Linked DNA regions of Homo sapiens: all the other regions are linked to region 2. The links are contacts of gene promoters, found by promoter capture Hi-C in blood cells and fetal thymus (Javierre and others, 2016). All regions are on one chromosome and are shown on one strand. The core of a region is centred on a gene start or on the middle of the fragment in contact, and the rest is flanking DNA. Distances in the headings are between cores, read along the strand shown. Region 1 holds the start of AMPD1 (adenosine monophosphate deaminase 1). Region 2 holds the start of OLFML3 (olfactomedin like 3). Region 3 overlaps AMPD1 (adenosine monophosphate deaminase 1). Region 4 overlaps NRAS (NRAS proto-oncogene, GTPase). Region 5 holds the start of BCAS2 (BCAS2 pre-mRNA processing factor). Region 6 has its middle 21 kb from the start of BCAS2.

Evidence for each region. Contacts are between HindIII fragments. The CHiCAGO score rates a contact against its expected background, and 5 or more counts as called.
Region 1: a contact is called between the fragment with the promoter of AMPD1 here and the fragment with the promoter of OLFML3 in region 2, in 4 of 17 cell types (total CD8 T cells, endothelial precursors, erythroblasts and 1 more). The highest score is 7.3, in total CD8 T cells.
Region 3: a fragment that was not itself captured here is called in contact with the fragment with the promoter of OLFML3 in region 2 in 6 of 17 cell types (M1 macrophages, endothelial precursors, total CD8 T cells and 3 more); the score reaches 8.8 in M1 macrophages.
Region 4: a contact is called between a fragment that was not itself captured here and the fragment with the promoter of OLFML3 in region 2, in 3 of 17 cell types (M1 macrophages, M2 macrophages and endothelial precursors). The highest score is 5.8, in M1 macrophages.
Region 5: the fragment with the promoter of BCAS2 here is called in contact with the fragment with the promoter of OLFML3 in region 2 in 14 of 17 cell types (total CD8 T cells, total CD4 T cells, naive CD8 T cells and 11 more); the score reaches 15.8 in total CD8 T cells.
Region 6: a fragment that was not itself captured here is called in contact with the fragment with the promoter of OLFML3 in region 2 in 6 of 17 cell types (total CD8 T cells, megakaryocytes, naive CD8 T cells and 3 more); the score reaches 7.3 in total CD8 T cells.

The regions. Positions count from the first base shown.
Region 1 is chr1:114,693,837-114,696,874 of GRCh38, forward strand. AMPD1 (adenosine monophosphate deaminase 1) reads right to left here and starts at 1,710. Exons shown (of 16, transcript NM_000036.3): 1 at 1,614-1,710. The coding sequence starts at 1,635. The HindIII fragment of the contact is 1,819 bases long and covers 26-1,844 here.
Region 2 is chr1:113,977,844-113,981,229 of GRCh38, forward strand. It overlaps OLFML3 (olfactomedin like 3), which reads left to right and starts at 1,631. Exons shown (of 3, transcript NM_020190.5): 1 at 1,631-1,787; 2 at 2,489-2,774; 3 at 3,106-3,386. The coding sequence starts at 1,674. HIPK1 (homeodomain interacting protein kinase 1) reads left to right here. Exons shown (of 16, transcript NM_198268.3): 16 at 1-26. RefSeq lists enhancers at 875-1,708, 3,376-3,386. The HindIII fragment of the contact is 3,076 bases long and covers 220-3,295 here.
Region 3 is chr1:114,673,647-114,677,066 of GRCh38, forward strand. AMPD1 (adenosine monophosphate deaminase 1) reads right to left here. Exons shown (of 16, transcript NM_000036.3): 11 at 2,231-2,357; 12 at 1,884-2,047; 13 at 1,106-1,226; 14 at 263-436; 15 at 1-103. Among named protein-coding and RNA genes, the nearest start is that of DENND2C, 5.3 kb to the left of the region's middle. The HindIII fragment of the contact is 2,142 bases long and covers 521-2,662 here.
Region 4 is chr1:114,712,783-114,715,995 of GRCh38, forward strand. NRAS (NRAS proto-oncogene, GTPase) reads right to left here. Exons shown (of 7, transcript NM_002524.5): 3 at 1,018-1,196. Among named protein-coding and RNA genes, the nearest start is that of NRAS, 2.4 kb to the right of the region's middle. The HindIII fragment of the contact is 2,336 bases long and covers 793-3,128 here.
Region 5 is chr1:114,579,560-114,583,062 of GRCh38, forward strand. BCAS2 (BCAS2 pre-mRNA processing factor) reads right to left here and starts at 2,056. Exons shown (of 7, transcript NM_005872.3): 1 at 1,940-2,056; 2 at 1,740-1,832. The coding sequence starts at 2,032. DENND2C (DENN domain containing 2C) reads right to left here. Exons shown (of 21, transcript NM_001256404.2): 21 at 3,291-3,503. It overlaps LOC105378914 (a long non-coding RNA gene), which reads left to right and starts at 2,284. Exons shown (of 3, transcript XR_947719.4): 1 at 2,284-2,840; 2 at 2,966-3,079. The HindIII fragment of the contact is 8,807 bases long and covers 1-2,900 here.
Region 6 is chr1:114,559,027-114,562,101 of GRCh38, forward strand. No RefSeq gene overlaps it. Among named protein-coding and RNA genes, the nearest start is that of BCAS2, 21 kb to the right of the region's middle. The HindIII fragment of the contact is 7,376 bases long and covers 1-3,075 here.

The DNA.
Region 1 (3,038 bases), core at 460-2,959, 720 kb after region 2:
GGAAATCATCCTTAAACATGGAAAAAGCTTTAGGTGTCAATATTGTTATCAGAACATACTTATACTTAAAAAAACCATAAAGAGGCCGGGTGCAGTGGCTCACGCCTATAATCCTGGTACTATGGGAGGCCGAGGCTGGCAGATCATGAGGTCAGGAGATCGAGACCATCCTGGCTAATACAGATATTCACTGTGTTATATGTGAAACACCGTCTCTACTAAAAATATAAAAATTAGCCGGGCGTGGTGGCAGGCGCCTGTAGTCCCAACTACTCGGGAGACTGAGGCAGAATGGCATGAACCCGGGAGGTGGAGCTTGCAGTGAGCCAAGATCGCACCACTGCACTCCAGCCTGGGTGACAGAGCGAGACTCTGTCTCTAAAAAAACAAAAACAAAAACAAAAACGAACAAACAAAAAAAAACCCCCAAACCATAAAGAACCTAAGGGATTAATTAAGAAAATAGAATATGCAGTCTTTTAAAATGGTTTTTAGGAAAGGTTTGGGATACCATGGTAAAAGGATAAGTTGTAAAGTTAAGCCAAAACATTATCCTGCCAAAAGCAGGATATAAAATTACATGTGCAATATAATAACAGTGCCTTTTTAAAAAAAACTCTTTAATTTTACACAGAAAATAGATTGAAAAGAAAAAAAAACACTAAAATGTTAAGAGTGAATATCTTTGGATAATGGATGTGCAGATTTTTAAAATTATTACTTTTGGCTGGGTGCAGTGGCTAACACTTGTAATCCCAGCACTTTGGGAGGCTGAGGCAGGCAGATTGCTTGAGCTCAGGAGTTTAAGATGAGCCTGGGCAACATAGCGAAACCCTGTCTCTACAGAAAATACAAAAACTAGCTGGGCGTGGTGGCAAGTGCCTGTAGTCCCAGCTACTCGGGAGGCTGAGGTGGGAGGATCACCAGATCCCAGAAGATTGGGGCTGCAGTGAATCGTGATCGTGCCACTGCACTCCAGCCTGGGCAACAGAGTGACACCCTGTCTCAAAAAATAAATAAATAAGTAAAAAATAAAATTATTACTTTTACTGAATTTCCCAACTTTCAAAACGAATGTTTATTACTTTTATTTTTTCAGCACAATTTCTATTTCACATGAAACATGTATTGCTTTTATCATTTAAAAATTATAACATTATTATTTTAAAAATTACTCTGCGTACAAACCTGGACAACAGAAAGCTATTCTCGTGAACCATCAGAATACACACATGGGTTATTTTTGTCATGTTCATGATTTTCAGCCAATACCATAGCTAGAGTCATTATGTAGAAGCCGTCTCAGAGCTATGGCAGCACAGGTTTTGTTTAGACTAGCAGAATAGATATTAAATATTTCACAGAGTTTTCTACTGGGATCATCAAAGATGCAATATACATGATAACAGTTTTAGAAACTTACCCACATCCCAAAACTAAAAACAAACAAAAAACCCTTGAAAATATTTTGTGTTTTCCTGAAATGTATGTTAAAGCTATCACGAACCCTAAATGAATGATCAAAGCTGATATGGTAGCTAAAGGAACAGTTGCTTGTCAAAAAAAAAAAAAAACAACAACAACTGAGCTCTCCAAACACTTTGTACACCTACCTGGGAGTTTGAACAGAGGCATTGTTGCTGAAATCCTTGATTCTAGGATAGCACAGTAGAAAAGAAGAGAGAGGAGACTGTGGGGTGACTGACTGACACTATAAAATATCCTGACATTCATTTTATTATTTTGCTTTGCCCCCGGAAATTTGATTCTTCTCTGCTAAGTGGAGAGAGATGAGCTTTGGACCTATTTATAGCTTGAGGCATTTGATAGTGAAAAACAGGTGAAGCTTTCAGTCTTTACTTTGGGATTAGAAGATATCTGTGGTGGGCCAAAAATTGCATTTCAATACTCTCTAAATCTTCTTACAGACTGGATCTTTGGCAAGTGTAGGACCACTGATGGTGATATCCCACCCTAGTGAAATACAGTGAAGTCTTTCCGGTTTCTGAAGCTATGATCCTCAGGGTTTCACATCACGCAAACAGCTTTCTGTGGTTGGTGAATATGCTGGTACATTCATCAAGCTCTCAACAGACACACACGCACACGCACACACGCTCAGGAATGCATGTTTTTATTAGTAATGTGTCTGACTTAGCAGAACTTCAGTTGACAGTTTAATGAATTAAGTGTTAAATTTACTTCAAGTCTTTTACAGAAACTCAACTGTCCTCCAGAGTATCCAGTTACCACTTCTCTACCTATTGTTATAATAAGAACAATAGCTTTGTTTTGTATAACATTTTATTGTATGTAAAACATTTGGCAAACATTATCTATTTGATACTAATTACAATCCTGTAAGGCAAGTAATACCTTATCCCTGTTTCCCAAATAAGAAAACTGGGGCTCTGACAGGTATCTTGCTCAAAGTCATTCTGTTCATCATAAATGGCAAAGCCAAGGCTCTCTGGACCCAAATCTCACGCTCTTTCCATAATAACACACAGTCTTAGTTATGACTGTATATATGTGTGTGTATATATATGTATATATGTATATATATGTGTATATACATATATTTTTTTCGAGACAGAGTCTCGCTCTGTTGCCCGGGCTGGAGTGCAGTGGCGCGATCTCGGCTCACTGCAAGCTCTGCCTCCCGGGTTCACGCCATTCTCTTGCCTGAGCCTCCCGAGTAGCTGGGACTACAGGCGCCTGCCACCATGCCCGGCTAATATTTTTTGTATTTTTAGTAGAGATGTGGTTTCACTGTGTTAGCCAGGATGGTCTTGATCTCCTGACCTCATGATCCACCTGCCTTGGCCTCCCAAAGTGCTGGGATTACAGGCGTGAGCCACTGCGCCCGGCCAGTTATGACTAAATATTTGATAGTTGCTGCTAGGTAAAGAAAGTACGCTGCTAGACTCAGCAGAAATTTTAAATTATAACAGCTTATATTGAAGATGAGCTTGGCACTTCAGATTAGCAACAGAATTATGGGCATAGACCAAATGATCTTTTTACTATTAACTATT
Region 2 (3,386 bases), core at 381-2,880:
ATCAATAAATGACATCTTTGAAAGTGGCTAAGCATATTGTATTTGAACATCAGTAGAGTACTAGAGACAATTTCATTCTTCACACAAATCTCCATACTGGAAATGAATAGGGTTTGGCAGGGAATACTTCCCAAGAATGCAGTGTCCAGGGTCCTTACTTCACATCATCTGGATCTGACCCTTTGAAAGAGGTAGAAGACTTCTGAGACCGGCTAATTAAGCTTTGTTTCCTCATATGTTTTGCCAGATAGCAGTAGCAGAATGAAAAGATGAGTAACCACAGGAAGCTGCTATTTTTCCCCTCCTTTCAAACTGTACTGTTAGAGTCATGGTCCTTTTTACAGAAGGAACCTCTCATCAGATTCTGTTGATTCTAAAGTGAATAGAATTTCTCCCGATAAAGAAATAGGGGTTTGTTTCGATTAATGACTGCAGGTCTCTGAGTAAATGCTCTATTTGATTTTTTTTTTCGGCCCGTGTGTCTACCTTATGGCCCAAGTCTACCTTATGGTGGCCATTAATTCATTTTGGGCTCCTGCAGCCTTAGTTGGGATATAGAAATGAGAAACACTCAGAAATACCCTTTTGGACCACAACCAAGAGAAATAACCAATAGTCTTTTCTCCCAGTGGTAAGGAAGTCAGAATACATTGATCTAGACTGCAACAACATATATATATATATCAGATTCCGCCCCCCCGCAATACATGAATGTATAGTAAATTAGTGTGAACTCACTGAACACTCCTCAGTTTTGGTGAGAGACTATATCTGGCCTCTTTCAAGCAAAGGAAAGCCATGTAAAACAGCGCTGCTGTCAGCCTTAACTTCCAGACGATCGAGTTAATTTACTAACTTCTCAGTGACCTGTTTTTTTTTTTTTTTTAATCTCAGTTATATTTTCTTCCTTGGGCTAAATCAGATATTTGCATAGCCCCCAAAGTAGTAATTGGATAGTCTTGGGGGAAATATGCATTTCAGTGGTGAAAACCCCTGTAAATTCAATATATTTGGCTTTTGTGGAAAATTTTCCTCATGGGGTGAAGTCTAAGCCTTAGTTTCTGTATTATCATGAGAGATGACACCAGCTGCTTAGCACAAGGTGGCGCCAATGAGCTTTAGAATAAGTTGGGCTTGACCACTTGGGCCATTGTTTTCCTGCTTCCTCCCTTCAAGCCTCACCTCCCCAGCTCCCAGCTTCTACTGAACAAGGCTGAAAACCCACTCTATTGCAGGGAAAGGGAAAGATTAATGAAAAATGTCAGTTTCTTAAGTCAGCACTGGTGAAACTTTCCTAAAACAGGAATGGCGTTTGCTGAGTTTTCTCTGGGGTCTCTGCTTTCTGCAGCTAGCTTCCCTGCTTGACTGCCTAGAAGGCCTCTGCTTTCGGGTTTCCATCTCTTTCCCCTCCAGAGGACCCTACAGCCTAGGCGGGAGGTGGTTAAGGCTTCTGGCTGCTGTGCAATGGGGCCATCTGTGTTTGATCAATCCTGGCGGAAAGGAGGGGGTGGGGGTTGTAAAGAGAACTGAAAGCATTCCAGAGTAGTGAGAGAGACCCAGAGATCAGGAGAGAAGGCACCGCCCCCACCCCGCCTCCAAAGCTAACCCTCGGGCTTGAGGGGAAGAGGCTGACTGTACGTTCCTTCTACTCTGGCACCACTCTCCAGGCTGCCATGGGGCCCAGCACCCCTCTCCTCATCTTGTTCCTTTTGTCATGGTCGGGACCCCTCCAAGGACAGCAGCACCACCTTGTGGAGTACATGGAACGCCGACTAGCTGCTTTAGAGGTGAGGGACCCCTTTCTCTTCTAGCCCCGCCTAGAAGGATTCCAGGGCTATTGGTTCAACCAGTTTGTTAGGGATCTGGGGATAACAAGAAAGGGCTCTGTTAGAGTCTACAGAAAATTCTCTCTTAATAAGAGGACCTTCGGAATGACAAGCCCTCCTCTTACCCCACATAGAACAATTCCAAAGCAAATCGACTTTTGCGTTTTACCTCTGGGATTAGATAGAATAAGGGGGCAGAGTGGAAACGAGAGCCAAAATTGTGGGGCTGCATCTCCAGAGAAGGTGATGATTCTGTTGAAGTTGGAGGTTCCCGGGGAATCTATAACTTCCTGTCTTTTTAACAGGTTGAGATCCGTAGCATTTTAGTGTCCGAGAGGATAATTGCTAAGGGAGCAGAGACCTCTTCACACCTTCATGCGCTTAGACCTGCCTAGAGGCTCAGATGGCTCAGTGGCACTGCTCACAGAGAACACAGGCTGGAGGACATGGAGTCGGGGTAGGGGCCTAGGTGAATCTCAGCTAGGCTCTTTGCACATTTAGCACCTCTGCACATCTGGTTTCCTTTTCTGCAGGAGTGGAAGGGGATATTGAAGCCTGGCTGAGTTTGCTCTTTTTTTCCCATTCCTGACTCCCGAGTTGGGCCTCTCCCTGCCTGGGAGTTGTAACCCTGCAGCCTCCCTCCTGATCCCCCATCCCTTCAGGAACGGCTGGCCCAGTGCCAGGACCAGAGTAGTCGGCATGCTGCTGAGCTGCGGGACTTCAAGAACAAGATGCTGCCACTGCTGGAGGTGGCAGAGAAGGAGCGGGAGGCACTCAGAACTGAGGCCGACACCATCTCCGGGAGAGTGGATCGTCTGGAGCGGGAGGTAGACTATCTGGAGACCCAGAACCCAGCTCTGCCCTGTGTAGAGTTTGATGAGAAGGTGACTGGAGGCCCTGGGACCAAAGGCAAGGGAAGAAGGAATGAGAAGTACGATATGGTGACAGGTAAATAATCTGAAAGCAGGCCCCTAACTCTTCTCAGAACCGATATTCTTCCTTCCTTGCTTCTTACTCTTTTTTTCGCTTTGTCCCAGTCCATTGTGGCTCTGTCTTCTGGAATCTGTTTTAGGGAAACCTCTGTAATGCCAGGTCTATTAAGGAGAGGTTCTGGGGATCCAGGCCGCTGTGGTACCCGCTCTTTCTCAATTCTCCCTAAGATTGGAGGCAACCACTGGGCAAATGCTCACTATTCTCCAGATCACCCACCCTGGGGGAGTTCCTGCTGGAGGCATCTAATTCTTGCCTCTATTTCCTTTTCCTGTGCTTTTCTCATCAGACTGTGGCTACACAATCTCTCAAGTGAGATCAATGAAGATTCTGAAGCGATTTGGTGGCCCAGCTGGTCTATGGACCAAGGATCCACTGGGGCAAACAGAGAAGATCTACGTGTTAGATGGGACACAGAATGACACAGCCTTTGTCTTCCCAAGGCTGCGTGACTTCACCCTTGCCATGGCTGCCCGGAAAGCTTCCCGAGTCCGGGTGCCCTTCCCCTGGGTAGGCACAGGGCAGCTGGTATATGGTGGCTTTCTTTATTTTGCTCGGAGGCCTCCTGGA
Region 3 (3,420 bases), core at 342-2,841, 700 kb after region 2:
AAATTCCACACTGCAAGACACTGTTCCTTGCCACTTCGCACATATCACAGGTGCTCAGCTTGAAGACTTGTGCAGCAATAGCATATTCTTCCATTAGGGGCTCCTGCAGTTATATTAAATGAGGAAAAAAGAGGAGTGAATTAATAAATAATATGCATCCTGCCTGAAAAAATAATGAAATACCTTTATTTGACTTTCAAATTCTGGACGGGAAACAACAGTCCAGCAAAATATGCTTGTATTGCCCAAGTCCATACTATACCTTGGTAAAGTGGAATTGCATTGGGTCATCTGTAGACAGTGAGATCATTAGCCCTTTCTGAAGGAAATCCAAAAAAGGATTTTTGGCATACTCTAGAAATAGGCTATTGTTACTTAGTGGTGACATGGCGATGGGAATTTGGGCTAAGAAAAACAAGTACTGTAGCACGGGACTCTGAAAAAGAAAAGTAAAAAAATATTTAAAGATGTTGAAAAAGGAATACAAACTAGAAACACTACAATCTCATGGTCTGCCTTAAGCTTCAGCTTTCAACAAAATTATCACTTGTTCTTCAAGTCTCTTAGTAAGGAGAATTTAGGAGTTTTTCAATGTAAATGCTATTTAGAATAAATGTACTTAGGATACATTAATTTTCAGAAACATTGAGTCAAACCAGATTGTTTATTTGATCTATAATGGCCTACGTTAGATGGTCTGTCTCAGGCAAAAGACTTTGCCTTGAAACATTATTTTTTCTCTCTCTCTCTACAAGAAAGTTCTGACTCTCACAAAAAAACATCTTGAAGCATGCTATAACAAGAAATCTGGCAAAAACTAGCTTAAGGAAAGCCAGGCCATCTCTGAATTATCCCTTGTCAGGATTCTAAGCTAGAAGTCAGGAGATCTGCGTTAACTTTTATCTGACAGCAACTAGCAAGGTAATCTTGAGCAAGTCCCTTTACTTCTTTCTGTAGAATGAACTGCACTAAACTAAAAAATCTTTTATGCTCTACTTGATTATGATTGCAGTGTCGATAATGACTTGTGACAGTATGGTTGGTTAAGGGAAAAAAGATTCCTCTAGCTCCAATGTAAAAGTTAAGAAGAGAGCTTCCAACTCACCTTTTTTAAATTTAGGCCATGAGAGATATCATCTGCTATCATGAATGCTGTCATGAGATGGGTGAGGGCTCCAGCTTCTCCACAGTGAGGTCGGAACAGAAACGTATTCATGCCTCGTTCCCTGGGGAAATAGAACTGCTATTGGAATCGCAGGTTCTGGGTATGGAGTGATTCACAAGAAAATTCAGTAGAAAAGTGAACACTCTGGAAGGAAGTAAGCCATCCAAAGGATTCAGCAAAACAGTCCCAAATCATAATCTTAATTCTTGCTAAATACAAAGTTTCCAAAAAGAGGCAGCAGAGGATATGGGGGTAAGGAAGCAAATAAAGTGTTGATTGCCTGGATGGAAATACGTTCAGTCTCAATAGGAAATTTACCAATATCAACATCTCATCATTTATTCTATTCTATTCAAATTTTAAGGGAGAAATGTTTCCAGAAAACTCCAGTATAATATTCCTCTACTTATTCCTTACCCAAATATATCAAGAAGGGCAAAATATATGAAGTTTTATCATTAATTGCACAATGATTAGTATAAATTCCTAAACTTCCCAAAAAAAAAGGAACTGTGAAAGTTATTGAAAGCATCGAAATACCGATTTCTGCCCCAAAATAAATAAACTGAAGAAAAAAGTTAAGAGAAAGAAATTTCTGATTTGGGCCAATTGGAACCATCACAGTAATGCATGAGGCCCCTGACCACCTTAATTGCCAATATATGTGGAAAGAGCTGTGTCAAATAGACCCTCCTAGCTCCAGCTGTCTCCTACTTACTTTCTCAGGCTGTTGAGCACCATGATGTTTGCATACATGTAGTAGGCATAGTAAGTGTAAGATGGATTCTTTTCCAATGTCCACTCCTGGGGCTTGGGACTCTTGGAGGAGAACATGTGGCCACTGTGTTTGGACTCATCATCCACACTGTCAAAGCCAGTGATCTGTTAGGAAAAGTGAGCCATGCAATGGGTTCAGTCCAACTTCAGGGTCCCAGTCCTCACACAAACTTTCAGGTCCAAAGGCACAGACCAAACATAAAGAGATAAGCACCAAGAATTAGTCATGACCAGGTAGGAAGGCTGGTTCATGAGCAGCAGTATGAAGGCCTGAAGGGTCATGCTTACATGCTTGAGGAAGACACTGAGTTCTGGGTCAGCCTGGGGGTTGATGGTGGCCTCAAACACTGGCATGAAAATATTCTCCAGCATTTTTCCAAAATGTGGAAGGAAATTCTTGGAACGGAACACATCACTAGAGGCAAGAATGAAGAGAATTTAGGAGAAAAAAAGATTTTTAGGACTGATAGCCCCAGTATGAGGGAACCAGAGAATCGAATGTCATGCACAGGAAAAGACGTGGTATATCTATCCTAGGTCCATGCTCCTCATACATTCTTTTTGGTCCCCTATAGAGAGGGATTCAGTTTGGGCAGCACATAGGAAATAAAAATTTTTTGGTGGACCCTATGTCCCCATCTTTTTTACAAACCTTTGTCATAAGAAAACTAAACCTTCACAGCTAAGTCCTCATAGAGGAATATGCAATTACGTCATAAAAGCTTCAATATATGTGTGTAACTACAAGACAGTGAACAGGAAATGATTACCAAGAATACCTCTGATCTGCAATTTAACAAACTCTGATATAGCATTTAATATATTCCAAGCACTCTTCTAAGTGACCAGAAATATTAGCTAATGTAATCCTCATAACAACTCAATAAGTTAGGTATTGTTTTTAACCTTGTTTTAGAGATGATGAAACTAAGGCACAATGGGGTGATATAACTTAACCCAAGGTAACACAGCTAAATGGTTGTGTTACCTTGATTTAAGTATTGCCAGGATTCAAGTATCACCACTCTGGGTCCAGAATCTATACTCCTAACCAACCTACTGCCTCTCTGCCTATTAGGAAGTATTATCCCAGTCAAAAAATTACTTTTTTTGGTTAAAGAGACAGGATGAAACTCTTGCATTGCAGTAGGTCACACAGAACACAAAGACAGGTAGCCAGAAAACATATAAACACCCAAGTTAGATAAAAGATCAATGATACTGAACAAACTGAAAGAGAAGCCATCCCTGAAGGCGATGAATGATAGCAGGTGGTATGAAAGGGAGATGATGTCCTCAGCAATACCATTGATAAATACTCATTGATTGTGGAGAACTTGAGCACTTGTAGGTGGGACAATTGACAGACAGTAGTAAAGGTTCTGATACAAGAAAGCCACATCCCAGTAGAGATGAGCATGGGAAGGAATGGACTTGACACAGAGAAGACCAGGTGAAAGAAAATGTATACCAAACTG
Region 4 (3,213 bases), core at 711-3,210, 740 kb after region 2:
CTCTATGAGGTAGGTATTATTATTTCCATATTATAGGTTAGGAAAGCCACATAGCCCCTGAGTCACGTCGCTAATAAACAGAGCTAGGTTTCAATCCAGGCAGAGTTCTCATTCTTAACCATTATATTATTCTGTTTAAGAACACTGTGCTAAGAAAAAGGAGCTTTGGGTTTTTGGTCCTGGCTCTGCTACTAATAACAATCCTGACTCCAAAACCTAACAAACGACATTCTGAACTCTGTTTCTGATTCTGCAAAATAAGAATATTGTACTAGAATTTTTATGGTCCAATCTAGCTTTGAAACTTTATGGTTCTATGGACAAAGTCTATCTTTATGTTCCCTTGCTTTGTTTTCATCTTTATGGACTTCCTATTTGCTTACTCCTATCATTTTATTTTTTATTTTTTTTGGAGACAGAATCTTGCTCTGTTGATTAGGCTGGAGTGCAGCAGTGCAGTGGAGTGAGCATGCCTCGACCTCCTGAGCTCACGTGATCCTCCCACCTCTGCCTCCCGAGTAGCTGCCACCATGTGTGACTAATTTTTTTATTTTTATTTTTGTAGAGACAGGGTCTTGCTCTGTTGCCCAGGCTGGTCTCCAACTCCTGGGCTGAAAGTGATCCTCCCGCCTTGGCCTCCCAAAGCACTGACATTCCAGGTGTGAGCCACTGTGCCTGGCCTATCTTTTCCATTACATACTGAAAGATGTTTCTTGGAGATGTTTTCCTCTCTGAAATTCCTTCGTGATCTCTAATTACAACAACTCTGGTTCCAAGTCATTCCCAGTAGCAAGCTTCACTTATGTATTATCAAACTTTATAGTAACAGTATATTATGTAAAATAAATTCCAGTATTAACTTTCAGTAATTACCCTAGATTCTCAATGTCAAACAACCTAAAACCAACTCTTCCCATAATTAAAAAGCTCTATCTTCCCTAGTGTGGTAACCTCATTTCCCCATAAAGATTCAGAACACAAAGATCATCCTTTCAGAGAAAATAATGCTCCTAGTACCTGTAGAGGTTAATATCCGCAAATGACTTGCTATTATTGATGGCAAATACACAGAGGAAGCCTTCGCCTGTCCTCATGTATTGGTCTCTCATGGCACTGTACTCTTCTTGTCCAGCTGTATCCAGTATGTCCAACAAACAGGTTTCACCATCTATAACCACTTGTTTTCTGTAAGAATCCTGGGGGTGTGGAGGGTAAGGGGGCAGGGAGGGAGGGAAGTTCAATTTTTATTAAAAACCACAGGGAATGCAATGCTATTGCCAAGGTTAAATAAGCATCTAACTATTCAAGCCCATTTCTGCCTATCTGGTTTGTCCCTCAAATTGCTAATATATAATCACAAACAAAAAGTATCCAATATCACCCTACATAAAAGAAAACCCACCAAATTCTATATGCCTGCAGAAAAGAAATATGGTCACTGTGTTCCTGGAAAAGATTAAGAAAACACAGTAACTCAAATGACAACTCTACTGCAGCCAGGAGGCTACAGATTAAGTACCCAGTGTATTTCACTAAGCTATGAACTGGACTGTTTTATTTGTGCTGTTTATTTTACTTAAAGAAATCTAAACATACCTCCACCAATTATAACCTGGCCCTATATACATCATTTGTGTTTATGACTAAATATACAAATACCTTTGTTTCAGAGAAGGTTTTTTTTTTATCATGACAGATGTACCTTTGGGAAATATTCCTGAATCAAATTCTTAAAGGTTCCAAACAAGGTATAGTTATGTTTAATTTCTCAGGAAGACAAACATGCATAGATCATATAAAAAATACTTTCATTTTGGTTTTATGGCAACAGGACTTTTACTTGTATTTTAATGTCATCACACTTGGAGAACTCTCTGGAGTACTGGAAGTGCTCTATACTGTTATCTGGGTGGTAGCTACATGACTATATAGAAACGCAAAAAGCACTGGGCTGTAGACATAAAATTTATGTATTTTACTTATGTAAATTGCTCAATAAATCAAACATTTAAAAATATTTAATTAAAATATTAAACATTTCATGTAAAATATTAAAGCTGTTAAGCTCAAAATAAAGATTTTGCCAAGGGTTAGCAACCAATTTTTTATAGTGGCTACATTAGAGTTAGTTTTCATCAATTAAACACGAGTAGCCAGATGGTAGGGAGGCCAGGTGTTGATTAAAATAATCTCTAAAGTTAGGCATTTCTAAACTGAACAAAATTACAAAACCCTTTATTTATTTATCTATTTATTTATTTTTTGAGACGAAGTCTCGCTCTGTTGCCCAGGCTGGAGGTCTGTGGTGTGATCTCGGCTCACTGCACCCTCTGCCTCTGGTTCAAGCGATTCTCCTGCCTCAGCCTCCTGAGTAGCTGGGATTACAGGTGCCTGCCACCACACCCAGCTAATTTTTGTATTTTTAGTAGAGACGGGGTTTCACCATGTTGATCAGGCTGGTCTTGAACTCCTGACCTTGTGATCCGCCTGCCTCAGCCTCCCAAAGTGCTGGGATTACAGGCGTGAGCCACCGTGTCCGGCAAAACCCTTTATTTAAAGAGCCTTAGGTGCCACTTACTGAAGACAATCTGTACCATGAACTCTCATAATAACAATAGAATCCCTAAGTACTATTACATAGTGCTTTACCATTCATAAATAACTTAAATATATTATTTAACTTTCCATAACATCCCTGTGTGGTAGGCAGGACAAGTTTATGGTAATTTAAAACATGAGGAAAATGAGGTTGGGAGAGATTCAGTTGCTCAATATCACACAACTAAATAAACTGCAAACAGGGACCAAAATCCTAGGCATAAAGACTAAAAATCTCAAGTTCTTGCTACTCCAATCATCTGGTCTCAGCTGCTTCAACTAGCTAATAAATAAATATTGAAGAACACTCATCTCTGAATCCTTTATCTCCATCCTATTATCTCCCATACAATCAGACAGTCTCGCTACTATGGCCTGTGTTTCTCATGTAATAGAGCTGTTATATATGAAGAAACTCATGAATGAACTCAACACTGAGTTTGCAATAGTTTACAGAACTGTTAAAAACTGGACAGGTTTTAGAAACTTCAGCAGCTAATAAAAATGAACTGTTCTCTATAAACACGTTAAGCTTATTGCATAACTGAATGTATACCCAAAATAACTTTTTACTTTCTCTCCTCTTATTCCTTTAATACAGAATATGGGTAAAGA
Region 5 (3,503 bases), core at 806-3,305, 600 kb after region 2:
CGTCTTCTACTTAAAACTCAGCCAAGGCTGGGCATGGTGGCTTACACCTGTATCCCAACACTTTGGGAGGCTGAGGTGGGTGGATCACTTGAGGCCAGGAGTTCAAGACCAGCCTGGCCAACATGGTAAAATCCCGTCTCTACTGAAAATACAAAAATTACCCAGGCATGGTGGCAGGCACCTGCAATCCCAGCTACTCGGGAGGCTGAGGCAGGAGAATCACTTGAGCCCGGAAGGTGGAGGTTGCAGTGAGCAGAGATGGCACCACTGCACTCCAGCCTGGGTGACGTAATGAGACTCCGTCTCAAACAAAAACAACAACAAACTTAACTAACAATTTTTTCATGTTACTTTAATGTAAATAATATCTTTTTTTTTTTTTTTCCCTTTGAGACAGGGTCTCACTCTATTGCCAGGCTGGAGTGCAATGGCATTATCATGGCTCACTGTAGCAGTCTTGAACTCCCAGGCTCAAGTGATCCTCCCACCTTGGCCTCCTGAGTAGCTGGGGCTACAGGTGCATGCCATCATGCCTGGCTAACTTTTTAATTTTTCTTTTGTAGAGAAAGGGTCTCACTATGTTGCCCAGGCTGGTCTCAAGTGATCCTCACACCTCAGCCTCCTAAAGTGCTGGGATTACAGGTGTGAGCCACCACACCCAGCTAAATACTGCCTTTTAATAATACAATCCTTTCATAAATAAACGATTAGGTATAATGGGAAAAAATCCTCCAAGCTGTACATACTGAAATACTTGAATCCAATAATTTAGAAATGATATCTTACATTTCATTTAGCTAACTAGACCCTAACTAGAATCCTGGGTGTACTTCAAGGTTATACATTTAAAATAGTATCATACTCAATGTGTGGAGTAGAACAGCATCTGACTCCTTAGGCAATCATGGACACTCCCTTCTCTAATCCTCTTGTCCTTATACATACCCTCCGCTATAGGTCCTTTACATATTATTACACATTTATACATACTATTGTAAACTTTTTGTTTTATATATCTAGCTCCTCACTGTATTGTATTTTTCTGTATTCAGAAACCCTATCTTTTTTGGAGAGGATGTTTGTCTTAAATAAAGAAAAGAAAAATTAAAAGAAAACAAAATATATTAAAAAAGAAACCCCATATATCTCTATGATCTCAGAATCTAGAATGGCACCTAGCACTTGTAAAGTATTCATATCAGTGAAAATTATTGCCTACATTAATCAGAAATGTGTTAATAAAAACATCGGATAGATTACAGAAAAAAGGAGAAGGCTGAGAAAAAAGTAGTATACACTTGGATATGGTTTGTCCTTTCAGTCGTATCACATACATTTGGTAAATAACTAGACTTTAATATGCCACTCTCCAGTGGTTCTAAAGAGCTTAGGTAATTAGGCTTATACATATTAAAAAACCCTAGATCACTTGCTGTAGAGTGAATCTTGGCAGGAGAGGGTCCCTTTGAGAATTTACGCATGGATCCTATCTCAAAGAATGGTAGCCACAAATTTTTGCATTAAGTGAGTTGTGGAGCCCCAGAAAGTCTTCCTATGGATCTTAGAATAAGAACCTCGGAGAAGACTTATCTATCTAGTTGTTTTCAATAGACTGACACCTATACAGTAGGTAAGTAGTAGCTATGCAGGCAATGGTTAAAACTGGAATTTAAAGCTCTCAATCCAAAATAAAGGTTCACAGGAATTCTCGTTCACACCTAGGCTCAAGACATACTTACTTCAAAGGCAGAATAATCCGGGGCTGTCAGGTAGCTCAGGTAGTTCTTAGTAGGTCGGTATCTGCGAGTTTCCTCCTCCACCAGCGCTGCAGCCTAAGAAAGAGAATAGGGACCAGGGTAGAAGTGGCAAATTGTAACATGTTTCTTTCAGTACCGAGCCAGCTAGCAGTGAGTCAGCTACAAAGACACCCCGCACTCACCGCTTCCCGCACACCAGGGGCTTCATAACCTTGATCAAAATACGGCAGCGCATCCACCACAACCTCTCCAGCCACCAAACCTGTGCCCGCCATTCTGAGGACCTCAGGTTTGCCTGCGTTTTCTGCGTCTGCGTAAACTCAGTTATATTTAATTACGCCGGCGCCTGACACTGATGTAATCACGTTCCCTCCGTATTGACGTTAGTGCATGCTCAGTTGCTAATTTTGAAGGCGGGTCCGCCCGGTATCTAGAAATTGCCGGGCTGGTTTGTTTTGGGCGGACGTGACGTAACGTCTTGGCTTGTCTGCGTCAGCGAAAGGCCTCAATTTCCTGTCCTCTGCTTACTGCCCCTTTTTTTGCCTGCGAATGGCGGCGATTTGAAGTTGGGGCTTTTCGTTTCCTCCAAAACATTGATATCTGGAAAGGGAGCCCCTTAACACTTTTGGAGGGAACTGGCTGCAGCATTTGGCGGGGAGAGATAAACTGGTTTCCCACCTCTGCTTACTCCCACCTTCTCCCCTTAATCTTCTCTTCCTCTGTGCGAGACTTTTTTCCTTTTTTATTGTAGACACAGGGTCTTTGTTCTGCTGCCCAGGTTGGAGTGCAGTGGCGTGATCATAGCTCACTGCAGCCTCAACCCCCCGGGCCCAAGCGATCCTTCCACCTCAGCCTCCCGAGTAGCTGGGCCTAGAGGTGCACACCACCATGCCTGGCTAATTTTTAATTTTTTTTGTAGAGATGGAGCCTTTCTATGTTGCCAAGCCTAGCCTCGAACTCCTGGCCTCCCAAAATGTGGGGAATACAGGCGTGAGCCACTGCACCCCGGGTCATTCCTCTTTTACTTCCTTGCTGTACCCCAACTATCCTTCCCCCTCGGTGCCCTTAAAACCTTTGCATTGGGTAAGTACATTTTTTAAAGAGACTCTAGAATTGGGCGCCAGTCTCCAATTAAAATTGTGAAGCTTTATGGTCTGCGTATCAAAAGGAACCTCAGTTCCTTAAAAATCCTGTCATTTTGCCTTTAGGACTTAACGGTAATAGAATGGCATTCCTCACTGCCTCCGAACCACTCAAGCTGCTGCCCATGCACTCTCTTCTGCATGGCTCCTGGACTAAGCAGCCTCCCTTTGATTAAGCAGGTAAAAACCAAATAAAGTTGTCAGACTATATGCCCTGCCCAGTGTGCAGTCTAGACCCAGCCTTTGTCTGCCAAGAGCCTGGAAATGTTGACCTCCGTTATTAAGCCTGGTCAGTCTAAGACTAATTCTTATTACCGAAGTACCATTAGGTAAATGTGCTAGCTATAGATTTAAGTGACATAAAAGATCTTAAAGAATTCTCCAAGGGATCTGTGGGGGGTTTATGTATTTATTCATTAAAAGATCTGTAAACAACATTTTATACAAATCTTGATTCTTTTACAAAAATATCCAGAATTCCTAACACTTTACAGAAAACACAACAGACCTAAGGAAATGAAGCAGCTTCAGGCTGCGAGGATGAAGACACCATTGCTGAAGCAAAGGTCTCCTCCTAGAGGGATAGCCAGGATCCATCACAGTA
Region 6 (3,075 bases), core at 381-2,880, 580 kb after region 2:
TAGCGTATTCCTTTGAATGCATTTAGTTGTAAAGTGTGGAGGAAGAAGGGAACACTGAGCTAAGATGAAGCTGAGCTTTTTATTATCCTGAATTATGTACCCTTAAAGTCCATATCTAAATTCCTTGACCAAATGTTTTTAAGATCTAGAGAAAAAAAAATATGTTAGAGAAACTGTTGGCTGAGTGTGGTGGCTCACACTTGGAATCCCAGCACTTTGGGAGACCAAGGTGGGTGGGTCACTCGTGCCCAGGTGTTTGAGACCAGCCTGGGCAACATGATGAAACCCCATCTCTACAAAAACCAGAAATATTAGCTGGGCATGGTGGCGTCTGCTTGTAATCCCAGCTACTCGGGTGGCTGAGGAGGGAGAATCACTTGAGCCCGGGAGATTGAGGCTGCAGTGAGCTGAGATTGTGCCACCACACTCTAGACTGTGCAACAGAGTGAGACCCCGTCTCAAGAAAAAAAAAAAGATTTCTGGTTGGTAAAATGTGGTAACTAAAAGCAGAACTTGAAAGTTGCACACATCACTTCAGTTCCTATCTCATTGGACACAACCTAGTCACACAGCATATGTACATGGTTGGATGGGAAGCTAGCAGTTAAGTTTTTAGTTGAGCATCCATATGCCCAGCTAAAACTTCTATTATTATAGGAGAGGATAACATATATTAGAGGGGCAAGTATGTAGTCCCTGCTACAGTAAGTCACTGAGACAACAAGTTCTGGGTTTACCCCTTTCCTTCTCAAAGACATGTAAAAATACAACCAAGTGAGATATGCATAGGGATCATCTTGAATCTGTATGATATATTTAGAAAGAAAGTTATTAAAAACTGCAGGTTTTGGCTGGGTGTGGTTCACACCTGTAATCCCAGCACTTTGGGAGGCCAAGGCGGGTGGAATACTTGAGGACAGGAATTTCAGACCACCCTGGCCAACATGGCAAAACCCTATCTCTACTAAAAACACAAAAATTAGCCAGCCGTGGTGGCATGTGCCTGTAACCCCAGCTACTCGGGAGGCTGAGGCAGGAGAATTACTTGAACCTGGGAGGCAGAGGTTGCAGTGAGCCAGGATTGCACCATTGCACTCCAGTCTGAGTGACAGAGAGAGACCTTGTCTCAAAACACAAAAACGAAACTGCAGGTTATTTATTTATTTATTCATTTAATTTTTTTTTTTTTAAGATAGGGGTCTTACTATGTAGGTCACAAGCTGGTCTCAAACTCCTGGGTTTCAGCGATCCTCTCACCTGAGCCTCCCAAAGTGCTGGGATTATAGGTGTGAGCCACCGTGCCCAGCTAAAAACTGCAGATCTTAAGTTACAGTGAATAACAAATTACTTGGCCCACATCTCTCAACAAACCACAATAGCCAGCTTATTGACTTTTATGGCTATTTCCCAGCACAAACTATGAAACAGACAGACCATCCCAGTTCTCCACTACTAAAATTATGCCATAATAAATATAACCTATTATATTTTTCTTTAGAAAGAAAAAAATCCTAGGGAGTAGTTGGGTGAACTGTTTATCATACTGGGCCAGCTAAGTGAAAGGGGTTACCTCTCTCTCTCTATTTTATAGAGACGAGGTCTTACTATGTTGGCCAAGTTGGTCTTGAACTGCTGGCCTCAAGTGATCTTTTCCCCTCCACCTCCCAAAGTGCTAGGATTACAGGCGCGAGCCACTGCTCCTGGCCAAGGGGTTGCCTCTTAACTCAGGTAAGATCCAGGGTGTAATAGACATGTTGTCATTATCTGCCCAACTACTTCCTCTCCTGATAGAAGCGCCATCCTATCTTACTTTGGGGAGCTATTACTCCAATCCAATCAACTGCCAAGCATAGTACTCTACCCTCAATTCTACAGGTATATGATCGATATCTGGCCAATCACAGTGCCCCCAAGTCCTAGCTATACTTCTGACTCTAAGGACTGAACGTGAAATTTAGAGCACATCAATCAAAATCCTCTGAAATAATATATACTGATATATTTGCTTCCTTCTAAGGCTGCTAAACTGAGATGATGTAAGTCTGGAGCTGCCTGTGGCTTTGGCCTCTGTTGTATAGAGGAAGCCTATTTGTAGGAGACAATATGGCCAGAAAGAGAAACAGAGAGATGAAAAACAGGACGACACGGGATCTCTGGAATTATTTTTTATATTTTATTTATTGAAAAAAAATTTTTTTTGAGACAGGGTCTCACTTTGTCACCCAGGTTGGAGTCAGCTGTGTGATCATAGCTCACTGCAGCCTGAAACTCCTGCCTGAACCTCCCCAAAGTGCTAGGATTACAGGCATGAGCCACCATGCCCAACTGGAATCCCTGGATTTAGTTGACGATGCAGCTAGTTCCACCTCTGTGCTTACAAATTAAATGAACCAATAAATCCCCCTTTACTGCTTAAGGTAGTTTTAGTTAGCTTTCTGTCACTTGCAAACAGACTTCTAATATCCAGAAATAGACTTCTAAGGATAGAGGAAGTGAAGTGGGTCTAATATAATAAATCTTAGTTCTCAGGGTAGAAAGCAGGGTGAAACAGAAATAGAAACTTCTGTTCATGAACAGGTTTACAGAGTGTCCCATTAGTCCAACTTATTTTTGATTCTATGGTATCCAACAAATTTGTATTGAAATTAAATGAAATGTGGTTTCTGTGTTCTTCTGGCACTAAATAAACATAGTACCTTGAGTGGCAGTCTTATGAATAATTTTCATTTTCTTTTTATCTGCATTTTCTGATTTGCCTATAATAAACATATGTAGATTTTTCACCATGTTAAATCAAACATTTATCATTATTCTTTATCAACTATTGTATTAGTTTCCTCAACATTTATCATCACTCTTTACCAACTATTGTATTAGTTTCCTATCAGTGCCGTAGCAAATTGCTATAAAGTGGGTGGTTTCAAGCAAAACATATTTATCATCTTACAATTCTGAAAGTCAGAACAAAGTGGGTCCGCAAAGCAGTTTCTCCTGGCCAACACTCTGATGGGAGATTTGTTTCCTTGCCTTTTCTAGTTTCTAGACACCACCTGCATTCCTCAGCTCATGGTCCCC